Regions from separate parts of the Homo sapiens genome. Here regions 1 and 3 are each linked to region 2. Evidence: promoter capture Hi-C in human tissues and cell types (Jung and others, 2019). All regions are on one chromosome and are shown on one strand. The core of a region is centred on a gene start or on the middle of the fragment in contact, and the rest is flanking DNA. Distances in the headings are between cores, read along the strand shown. Region 1 has its middle 190 kb from the start of LINC02780. Region 2 holds the start of AJAP1 (adherens junctions associated protein 1). Region 3 has its middle 53 kb from the start of LINC02782.

Region 1 (4,032 bases), core at 1,188-3,687, 490 kb after region 2:
GAAAGGATCAACACCATCTAGGCAACAAATGCAGGCTTCTGCCATGATGGAGAGAGTAGAGTCAGAGAAAAGCACGTGGACCGGAAGGCGTTGGGAAGGCCCTGGAGATGGAGCTGATGGGGACACAGAGAAGAGAACACAGATGAGCGTGTGGCTGAGGGCCGACACGGGCAATGGTGACAGGTCAGCCCGGGAGGTGGGTTCAACAAGAGGATGAGCTACATTCCACACACGTTGAGTTTAAGGAGCTGCAGGACGTCCAGTGGGGGCTGCATAGAAAGACATAGCGGCATCTGCTAATGAGGAGAAGCACTCTCCACGCCACCCTGTCCCCCCTGCACCAAACCCCTCTCCGTGCTGGTGTGTGGTGTACCGCAAAGTGGCACGCAGCCCGTGGGAGTGTCGGATTGTCATTCTGAGTCTATTTCTCCTTGTGGGCTGCCGCACAGACAGTAAATGATGCAATTCTGCTGGGGCGCAGACGGGTGAGCTCTGTTTCCACAGCAATGCTGGGCTGTGCTTCCAACATCTCTCTCTGGGGATCTTCCCACAGCAGAAAAATGCGTGGTAAGTAGAAAAGCTTGCTGAGAGACCTCAAGGCCTCCACTTCAGTCTGCAACTTGGAAACTTCCAGCAGACCAAGAGATAGAAGAGACAGGAGAAGGGTGAGAAGAAGAGGGGGCCAGGAAGGGACAAGGAGGCAGGATTGGCCTCCTTGAGCAGCTCTCGTCTCTGAAATGGTGAAAGAACGGCCGTCGAAATGCAAAGCTCTGCTCTAGGAGTAGAAGCGAAGGCTGCTGAGGCATCATTCACCACTTACCTGAGGGACAACCGATGCGTGGAATAACCGAGCGATTCTCAGGAGCTCCTGCTCTCAAGCCACGGACTCTTAGGACTAAAGTCATGTTCCTGGGACTCGATGCCATTAGCACATCCTGCCCCAAATCAAACCCTTCTCCTGTACAGGTTTCCAGACAGCCTTCCTCGGTCTCACCCTCAGCTGTCTGTGAGTCACCCCTACCCACTGCAGCTCCCCGTTGGCAAATGACGAAAAATTGGGCCACATTATCACGGATACCACGTGCATCAAGAAAACAAATTAAGTCTAACATTTGTGCGGTGACAGCTGACCTTTGCATGATTAAAATGAATGGCTGCAAAAGGAGGCAGAATAAAGATGTTTAACTTAGTGAAGCAAGCTTGGAAGCCTGGGGATGTTTCTGGGCAAACCTGAAGGTGAGACAAAAACAGGGTCACACTGCCTGCTGGCACCTGTTGGCCAGAAGAGGGGCCACTGTTGGGGAGAAGGGCCGGGGCATGGGCTTCCAGACCAAGAGAGAGAGCATGGCCTCCCCTGGCCCTGACCTGGCCCAGCTCAGCTGGGAGCACCAGTCTCTTCCAGTGCCTGCATCGAGCTCTCTGCTGTTTCATCTCCCCCTGTTCTCATCGCTCCTGTTAGTTCAAGATTTGTCACTGTATGCCCCGGGACTGGCCTAAGTGGTGGCTTCATAAATATGGAAGGGGCCTGGTGCGGTGGTTCATGCCTATAATCCCAGCACTTCGGGAGGCCGAGGTGGGTGGATCACTTGAGGTCAGGAGTTCAAGACCCACCTAGCCAACATGGTGAAATCCCATTTCTACTAAAAAATACAAAAATTAGCCAGGCATGGTGGTACACACCTGTAATCCCAGCTACTCAGGAGGCTGAGGCAGGAGAATCACTTGAACCCGGGAGGCAGAGGTTGCAGTGAGTCAAAATCATGCCACTGCACTCCAGCCTGGGTGACAGAGTAAGACTCTATCTCAAAAAAGAAATAAATGAAAATAAATAAATGTGGAATGAATGAGTCAAAGCTCCTTAAGGATGGTGTGTATTTCTTTTGCCTTCTTCATGGGACCCAGCCTCCAGCTGGGCAGACGTGACCCCTCTGAGATCTGCAGAACCTGCTTCTCTCTCTAGCAGGCTCTCCTCACACGGCCATATGTCTTGTGGGAGGTAGACAGACCTGTGCTCCTTGAAGACAACGACTGTGTCTAAGTAATTATGTATTTTTCTCCACGTAACACTGCACTCATATAGCTGGTGATTCAATCATTGTGTTAAGTGAGCAGGGTATAAGCGATGTAGGGGTCTTGCTTCTCTGATTTTGGGTGGAGTTCATGTGACACTAGCAGGAATCATAAAGAAGGCACGGATCTGGTTCTGTGTGCAGAAGAAGCATGGAATGGTTGGTGTTGGACTGCAAAGAGCTCAGGTGACCCACTGTTCAGCAGCATTTCCCCATTCTTCGTCTTGGCAAAGTCTTCTTCATTTTCTGTATCTGCAGAACTTCCTTGACAATGTAGACAGGTAAGAAGAATGAATAATTGCTTCAATGGCTGAAATGTGTTGAGCAGTTCCTATGGCCACATATGAACAGTGTATGAGAGAATATGTATGAGAGAATACATTCCTGTGATTTTTAAGCTGCCCAGCTCAAGATACTTAATTATGACCACCTAGGAACCTAACAGGGGCCACATATGCTTAGCACACGCCACCTGACCAATCATCCCAGCAGCCCCAGGAGGTGGAGACCTGTTACAAGTTGAATTGTGTCCCTCCAGAAAGGTATGTTAAAGCCCTAACCCCCCCATACCTTTCAGTGTGACCTGATTTGGAGCTAGGGTCTTTGCAGATGCAACTGAGTTAGGAGAAGGTCTTCAGGTAGGTTCTTATCCAATATGACTAGTGTCCTTCTAAGAAGAGGAGACAGACACACAAGGGGGAGTTGGCCATGTGACCACAGAGCCAGTAATTGGAGTGATGCTACCACAAGCCGAGGGATTCCAGGAGCCACCAGAATCTGGAAGAAGCAAGGAAGGACCCTCCCCCAGAGGCTTCTTAGTGAGCATGGCCCTGCCCACACCTTGATTTCTGAGTTCTGGCCTCCTGGGCAGGTGAGATAATAAATTCCTGTGATTTTTAAGCCATCCAGCTTGTGGTACTTGACTATGACAACCTAAGAAAGTCATAGAGGGCTATTATCATCTCAATATTGCTGTTGAAGAAACAGACTCTGATGACTAATATTGAGTGTCTACTTGATTGATTTGAAGGATGCAAAGTATTGTTCCTGGGTGTGTCTGTGAGGGTATCGCCAAAGGAGCTTAACATTTGAGTCAGTGGACTGGCAGAGGCTGACCCACCCTCAGTCTGGGTTGGCACCATCTAATCACCTGCCAGCGAAGCTAGAATAAAAGCAGGCAGAAGAATGTGGAAGGAATAGACTGGCTGAGTTTTCTGGCCTCCCTCTTTCTCTTGTGCTGGATGCTTCCTGTCCTCGAATACTGAACTCCAAGTTCTTCAGCTTTTGGACTCTTGGACTTATACCAGTGGTTTGCCAGGGGCTCCTGGGCTTCCCTACTTTCAAGGTTTTGGGACTCAGACTGGTTTCCTGGCTCCTCAGCTTGCAGATGGCCTATTGTGGGACTTCACCTCGTGATCGTGTGAGTCAATTCTCCTAATAAACTCCCCTTCACATATACGTCTATCCTATTAGTCCTGTCCTTCCAGAGAACCCTGACTAATACAGGCTCAAAGAGGTTAAGCATGTTGCCCAGGGTCACAGAGCTAGTAGGTTAAAGTACACATGCAGAAGCCCATTGCAAAGGCAACGGGCGTGCACCTGCCACGTGAGAGAATCACCCACCGTGCCCTCCAGTCGCCAGACTGTATCTGACCCATGTGGATGGAAACCATTCTCATATAGATGGTCCGCTTCCATGCCTCCCTAATCCTGGAAAGTAATTGACTTCTTCTTAGATGAGTAAAGAACTTTGTGCACATGCACTTGTGTGGTTACAGAGAGCACCGTTGGGAGCTGCCGTGAAGCCGTTTTGTTTTCTTCTGCAGTGGCAGGCTGTCGTCTGCCATGTCTCCTGGCATCTGCCACTAGCAGGCTCTTTGATGTCAGATTTTCTTAGGACCGAAAATGAGCTCACAGAGCCTTTGGGTAATTGTGTATTTATAAAAACATCATAATAAGAAGA
Region 2 (3,687 bases), core at 151-2,650:
AACAGCTGGGTCGGCAGCTGGGAGCCTGGGAGGCCCCTGCTCAGCCCCGGGGCCCCGAGAAAGGAGAAGGGGGAGCGGAGTGGCTGTTTGGCTGTGGTTTCCTCCAACTCCGCCTGCGAAGCTCTCGCTGGGAGCCCGGAGCTTTAGCTTTCCCCGGCAGCCCCGGCCCCCGCGCCCGCCGCGCCCAGCGGCCGGCGCCTCGCCCCGGGCCCCGGGGAGGAGGCGCGCCGGGGCAGCCGGCCAGGACACTGCGCTGCTGGCTCCTAGAGCTGCGGGCGCGCCTGGCCGGCCCCACTTCCCGGGTTGCTGGGGCGGGCGCCGCTGCCCCGACCCCGGACGCGCGGAACCCTGGAGACCCGGCCGCTCCCCGCCAGGGCCGCGGTGCTGCTCCAGGCTCCGGGCGGGCGCCCCTTTCCGGCTACCGGTGCACCCCGTTGCCCGCTTGCGGGAAGCGAAGAGGGGTCCCTTGATTTGCAACATAGAGGAAAGCGCCGCTTCCGCCCAGCCTGGCACCCACGCGCCCACACGCACCCGGCGCCGGCCGGGTCGCTCACCTGAGTCCTAAAAGCTGTTGAATCCACATGGTCACGTTTCGGGGAGCGGGGCCTCAGACCTGGCTCGCCCAGGCCATCTGCGCGGCGCCCGCGCCCGCTCGCTTCCGTCCCGCGGCGCCGGTCTCCGGCTCTCGGTCCGCCGCCTCCCGCCGCCCGCCGGCCGCGGGGCGCACAGCGAGTCAGAGCGCGGCCGCGCGGGGCTCCATGCCGGCCGGCGCGCCGCCGCCGTTGGGGCGCATGGCTCAGGCTGGGCGGCCCGCGGGGGCGCACATCCTCCGGCCGGGGCGCGGGGCTCGCGGCCCCCTCCGCCGGCGGCACAGCGAAGGCGGCAGCGAGGCGGGGCGTGTTCCGGCGCTGTCGCGGCGCAGCAAAGGGCTGGGGAGCCGCGGCTTCGCCCTCCGGGGCGGCGAGGAGGGAGGCCGGCGGCGCTGCCGCTCACGGTGCGTGTCTCCCGGCGCGCGGCTCTTGCCTCCAGCCGGAGCTCCGCGCCGATGGGGCGGCGCTGCTTAGGGTTTGGGGTGACGCGACGCGGACGGACGCGAGTCCCCTCCGCGCTGCCGGGTCGGGGGGCTCTGCCAGAGGCTCCGCCGCCGATCGGCGCCACTCAAGTTGCCCGGGGGCTCCGTCTGAGCGCTCGCTCTGCAGACGGCCGCGGCCCGGAGACTGGCAGGAGGCGGGCACGAGAGGCGCGCGGGGCGAGGGCGCCGTGGAGCGCGGGGCGTGGGGACGCGCGGCGGCGGCGCCGCGCGGAGGAGGCGCGCGGGGATCCCGGGGCCCCGCCGCCCGCGCCCACCGCGCCCGCCGCAGAGCCGCCCGCGCTGCTCAGCCGCCTCCCTCCTCGCGTCTGCCTCTCCGCGCGCTCGCCCCCGCCTCCCGGAGCCGGTCCCAACTCCGCCCGCCCGGCCCGGCTCACGTCACCCGCCTTCCCCGCCCCTCGAACGGGAGCTCGAGCCCCTGGCCTGGCCCCGGCTCCTGCTCGCCGCCCCACCTTGCGGGGGCCGGGGTCGCCGCGGGTGGTGGGGGGCGCTGTGCCCAGCAGGGGCGACAGCGCAGGCGGGGCCTCCTGCAGCCCCCTTCCCCATCCCCGGTCGCGTCCCGGTCCCCACCTTGCGAAAGGCTCGAGAGAGGCCGCAGGCTAGGATTGGACCGCCGGGCGCCGCCGGATGGTGTTGCCAGGGTAACCGGATGGCACGCGAAGCCGTTCGAGGTTCCGACCCGGTTACGGGGGCGCCCAGTGGACCCGGAGAGCTACTTTGGGGAGGGGGCGGCCCCGAAGAAGGACTGGGTGGGGGCGCATGGAGCGGGGGCTGCGCGAAAAGTTTCCTGGGGCGGAGCTGAGCCACGCGGGCCGCGCAGGAGCGTCTGTCCGAGGGTCGCCTACGAGGGACTCCTCTGCTCGGCTGCGCGGGCTTCTGCGTTGATGAAGTCACCGCGTTCCGGGTCGGAGCTTCGGCGCTTCTGCCCCGAACCCAGCGAAGCCCGGTCCTATGCCCCCAATTACCCAACGGTCCCTCATCGCCCAGCGCAGCTGCTGCCTGGCCAGGCCCTTGCTCCGGAGGAGTCACTGGAAAGTTCCAGGGAATCTGGGCCTCCCGGACTCTCCACCGGCGTTTCACTGCTCCCTTCCCATGCCAGGACTCCTCTGTGCCTACCTGGTTAGTCTGTATTTGCAAAAAACAAACAAAAACAACAACAAAAAACAAATGGGGGGCACTTAAAGGAGGACAGACGCTGGGCGGGGACCTTTCACTGAGAGAAGTGACATGGGGCGGAATCCTCTGCAGACCCGCTGACGCCTTGAGAAACCACGGCAAAACCCTGCTTTTAATCCTCCACAGGCTGAGGGCAGTGCAGAATCCGGGCCTTGGAAAGGACACTGGTGCCACCCTTCACTGGGGAAAGGTGCAAGGGGCGGGGGATATACCATGCCGAGCCTTCGCTCTGTGCTCTGTGCAGGTGCTTGACCCAGGCCAGCTCTGGAATCGCCCCAGGCCATGTGAGAGCCGTGGGGGGTGAGAGGGGCGGGAAGCACTTCACAGGTGAGGCCTCCCTGGGAGGGGCAGCCAGTGAGGGGGTGGAAGGGCAGAGCCAGGAGGACCATGGCTTGGGGCTCAGTCTCCCAGGCGAACCATAGCTTGGGGCTTAAGTCCCCCAAGCAGCCCTTTCACCCCCAGGCCTCCAGGATCTTTGCCAACGGTCTTGAGGAGCCAGGCACAGGATTGGACTCTGCCCGGGCAGGAGGATGAAGACAGTGACTTCCCCACCAAGACTCCCGGCAGAGGGCCAGAGGCAGGGAAGTGTGGTGGCAGGAGGGCCAGCCTTGCCGTGGCTGGACCAGGGGCCAGCGCTTGCTAACTCGGGGTCCTGGCCGAGTTGTGTGGCCTCTCCGACCCTCGGTCTCCTCATCTGTAAGATGGGTCCCACAGCCCCTCCCCGGGGAGGTGTTTGCAGGGCTCCATGAGAAGGCCTTACACACACTGTGGCTATGGTGATCTGTGAGCCGGTCAGAGGACCCGAGAGGCAGCAGGGTGACTCAGCAGTTTCCCTGCCGGGCCGCCCCTGGGTCATCGTCCCCTAGAGCCTCTCCCTGAGGGGTGTGAGGGAGCGGATCCCATTAAGAGGCGAAGGAGGCAGGGAGGTCCTGGAACCAGCGGGGCCTATGGCGGCCGGCGGGGAAGGAGGCGCCGGCAGTGCTGCCACCTAGCGGTGTGAGGAGGCGGTGCTGCACCAGGGAGGCCCTTCCTGCAACCGGAGTGGGCCTGGAAGGGGCCGGCTTCGCACACTAGGAGCCAGCAGGGCAGGGAGGGGCTCCGGACCGGACCGTGTCGGCTCCAGGAACCCCTTGGGCAGCCTTGTGGACACCTGCTGACCTCTCTCAGAATGGCTTCTAAGTGCATAGATGAAAAAGCCCAGGATTATTAGGAAACCAATTCTATGCAAATGCATTATCAAAAGAGTAATAAAAACAAATTTCTGATATAGCCGTATATATTATTTATTAATACACTTAGTAAGCAATTGACAGATCCTAAATTACGTTCCTTTTGAAGTCCAGATATGCAGCAATAATATCCTGAGGTAACTGCAGCCATGGCAGTGTGATATGGAAATGCCAGTGCTTTCTATGTTTGAC
Region 3 (3,901 bases), core at 333-2,832, 500 kb before region 2:
CCTCGGCCTGGACTTTATTGTCCAAATCACTGTCAGCATTTTGGTCAAAGGCATTCAACAGTGTCTAGGAAGTTCCAAACTTTCCCCATTTTCCTGTCTTCTTCTGAGCCCTCCAAACTGTTCCAACCTCTGCCTGTTACCCAGTGCCAAAGTCACTTCCACATTTTCAAATATCTTTATAGCAGCATCCCACTCTCTGTGGTAACAATTTACTGTATTAGTCTATTCTCATGCTGCTATAAAGAACTGCCTAAGACTGCGTAATTTATAAAGGAAACAGGCTCAATTGACACACAGTTCCACATGGCTGTAGAGGCCTTAGGAAACTTATAATCATGGCAGAAGAGAAGCAAACAGGTCCAACATGGTGGCAGGAGAGAGAAGTGCAGAGTGAAGGAGGGGAAAGCCCCTTATAAAATCATCAGATCTTGGGAGAACTCACTCACTGTCATGAGAAGAGCCTGGGGGAACTGCCTCCATGATTCGGTTATCTCTACCTGGTCCCGCACTTGACACATGGGGATTATTACAATTCAAGGTGATATTTGGGTGGGAACACAGAGCCAAACCATAACACAGGGGATGGTCCTAAGCCAGGAAAACTTGAATTACAGGGCTGGGGATGGGAAGAGAGACCTAAGAGAAGGTGTAGACAGTGGGAACATGAAGGATGAAGCTTGGGCTTGAGTTATGGGTTGGCCAGAAGGCAGAACTCCACAAGGATACCTGGGCTTTCCATCAGTGTATGGGCAACAGCAGAAATGCGGATGCCAATGTGTGTGAGAAGAAGCCCCTAGCTGGTAGGTTTGGGCTTGTTTAAGTGATATTGCACTTGAGGTGACAGGAATGTCCTTGAAGCTTTGCCTTCTGGCTGAAAGGGATGCAGCAGCACCACCTCATCCTTCTCTTTAGAAAGGGATTATCAGGCCCAATAAATAGAGCAAATAAATCCTCTTCATTACTCTGTGCAAAGATGTAGGAATGTGGTAGGGGTGGGAGGATGTGTGTGTGTGTGTATGCGCACACACGTACACACACACACCTGCATACGCTCAGGCTACCCAGGATCTAAATATTTCTTCAGACTAAGTTGAGATTCTCAGCTCAGATTCTATTCTATGAACTTGTCTCATGAAAATGTTGATTACACATATAGATTTTGCATTGGGAGAGCACTGCGTTTGTGTGTGTGTGAGCATGTGTGAGTGTGTGTGTGTGTGAGATGGAGACGAGGTATATAAAGAATGATGTAAGGAAACATGCCTTTGTGGGAAAACAGATGGTCTTGAAGAAGAGAACTGAAATGCAGGAAGCCATCCTGGCTGCAGCTGCCTCCCCAGCGAGCGCCTCTGAAGACTCTCAAGCAGATTCCGCCTGATTGCGCTCACTCCAGCCGTTCTTACCCAGATGAAATAAGCATGGAACAGACTCTTCTGCCTAATGAGAATTTAAGTTCTCAACTTTGTCAGAGATGTGAGCCTGCAGACTCGGTGTGAGGTACGTTTCTAAGAGTGCATCTGTAATAGGAGGGGTCCCAGTTCAGGCTCCGCCATCCCCTCCAGAATCTCCCAGCACAGGACCCCAGCAAAGGCAAAGCTCATGATGTGGGTGATGGCATCATAGCAATGAGAGTCCTCGGGCTCAGAGCCCATCTGGCCTCACTGAGTCCAAGAATGTCTATTGAGTATCTCCCGAGTGCAGGAGGTAGATGCCAAGGGATGCACATCCAGAAAGGAAAAAGACTTTCTGCTTAAGTAGACCCATGGGACAGCACCGAATTTGCAGGCTTGGGCTTGAACTCATTGTCTGGTTTGAGCCCCAGTTCTGCCATTACTGAGCTATGCGACCTTGAGCAAATTACTTAACCCTACTAAGCCTGCATGTTCACCTCTGCAAAATGAGAATAACAATCATGCCTGTCTCTTGTGGCTCTTGTAGGAACTCAGCAAGTGATGTGTAGAGGGCACACAGTCCTATGCTGGACACATAGTGAAAGCTCAGTTAACATTAGCCATGAATGTAAGGAGCACTCAGATATCCTGAATCATGGCAATGCTTGCAGAGCGTGGGTACCTAATGTGTGCTGAAATGACTTTTGAGAGGCATTCCTAGGCAATTTCAAAGTACTTTTCCACATCTTTGTTCCAAGTTGTCTTATTTTTATGTCTTTCCTACTAGTTCAAACCTCCTGAGATTATTTTGAGAAAGAGGCTTGTACATTTCAAACAATACTGATGTCCTCCACATTTACAGTATAAATATTGAGGGTGCTCAGAGAGAGGATGAGGAGAGTGGTGAGTGGGCAACAGAAATGAAGGAGGTAGCTGGGGGCCTGGACAGGCACCTGCTCTGAGCGGAGCCATGCCGGCATCTCTGGCTTATTGAGTAAAGCAATTTCTTCCTGTTTCTGCAGGATTGTCTCCTCCCAACCCCTACCTCTTTAGTTTCCCTTGGTATCTTTGGCCTTTCAGGTCCTCTCATGGTCTTCTTGCTCCCTTGGTGCAGGAAAGAAAGACTGCTGTGTGGTTTTGGGGTTTGGTTTTCTCCTGCTCAGGGGCCTCTGCAGGAACTGGCTGTTTGGCGGGACCTTGTCTTTTGCAGAAACACATGTCCAGTAGCCTCAGCCAAATTCCCTCTGGCTGAACCAGGATCACAAAGAGTAATGATGGCCGCCAGCATTTACAAAGCAGCCCTGTGTGCTGCAAGCTGCTTGGCCATGTCATTACATTTATCCCTTCCAATAACTAGGTACTGCAGAGTGTTCTTATCCATGTTGGAATGAAGGAACTGACACAGAATGAGGAGTCACTTGATCAGGCTGCACAGCAAGGACATGGTGAGGCCAGGCCCAGAAAGGCCCTTCTCTCTGTCCAGCCTCCCTTGGAGACTGCAGTCTCTCAATGGGGCCCCTCCTAGCTGTTCTCATGAGCCAGCAAGACTGAGAAAGGACTTCTAGAAGCATCAGACTGCAGAGCTCAAAGAGAAAGGACTTATTTAATTTTACATAAAATGAAGAAGCAAGAGAAAACAAAAAACCCCTAATCTCTTGGGGGATGAGAAACAGTGATGGCCATCCCTGGGCTACTTGTGACTCTTTGGATCCATAGTCCCATTTCAAACCCACCTAGATGTATCAAACTTTCGTGAAATGTGCCCTTTGAAAATAATAGTGCTTTTTTCAATAGGTCTCAAACTTGAGCAGATGATTTCACCTCCCCTCTGGGCTCCCAGTCATAGGTCTTGACTCTGGTATCCCCCTTCATCTTTGTGATCCTGTAAAACTACTCAGACCTTCCTTTATACTGCCAGTGTTTCAAGGTCAACGTGAAATCCTCATTAAATTGTAGGTTTATCCTTCTGAATTGGGCTTCTAGCAATCACATGGATAGTATGTTCCTTGGGTGTGACTTGACCTGCAGGAGACTAACTAATAAGAATTATTGAGCATCTGCTATGGGCCAACCATTGTACAACTGGTGCCGTGGTGTGCCATTATGACCTAATTCAGGCACTAGTGGGCTGCACCTCTTGTTTGCTAACTCTTCCAATGCAAGGACAGAAGTTTATTGGTATCATGTGCACCAGTCACTTGATTGTATAAAGAAACCATGGCATTCAAGTAAAGTCAAGTGGCTGGCATAACTTTCTAGTCCACAGACTTGCACACATCTTACCAAAGGAGCTTTAGAATGAAGCATTCACTTGTTCTTGCATCCTGGCATGTTTTTATGACAATGGTATATTCTCTTGCTTTCCAACCTTTCTGAATATATGGACTATACATTTCTTTTAAATGTTTATTTTTAAATGATTTTAGACTTACACAAAAGCTGCAAAGTTAGTAAGACGCATTCTCATACACCTTTCACCAGATACCTACTCCTAACGTAATCTTAATCCT

Evidence for each region. Contacts are between HindIII fragments. The study calls those that stand out against the background at their distance.
Region 1: a contact is called between a fragment that was not itself captured here and the fragment with the promoter of AJAP1 in region 2, in 1 of the 25 tissues and cell types used here (dorsolateral prefrontal cortex).
Region 3: a contact is called between a fragment that was not itself captured here and the fragment with the promoter of AJAP1 in region 2, in 2 of the 25 tissues and cell types used here (dorsolateral prefrontal cortex and mesendoderm cells).

Annotation. Positions count from the first base shown.
Region 1 is chr1:4,167,522-4,171,553 of GRCh38, reverse strand. No RefSeq gene overlaps it. Among named protein-coding and RNA genes, the nearest start is that of LINC02780, 190 kb to the right of the region's middle. The HindIII fragment of the contact is 3,094 bases long and covers 891-3,984 here.
Region 2 is chr1:4,652,322-4,656,008 of GRCh38, reverse strand. AJAP1 (adherens junctions associated protein 1) reads right to left here and starts at 1,400. Exons shown (of 6, transcript NM_018836.4): 1 at 555-1,400. The coding sequence starts at 583. RefSeq lists an enhancer at 3,360-3,409. The HindIII fragment of the contact is 14,001 bases long and covers 1-3,687 here.
Region 3 is chr1:5,149,132-5,153,032 of GRCh38, reverse strand. No RefSeq gene overlaps it. Among named protein-coding and RNA genes, the nearest start is that of LINC02782, 53 kb to the right of the region's middle. The HindIII fragment of the contact is 3,193 bases long and covers 1-3,178 here.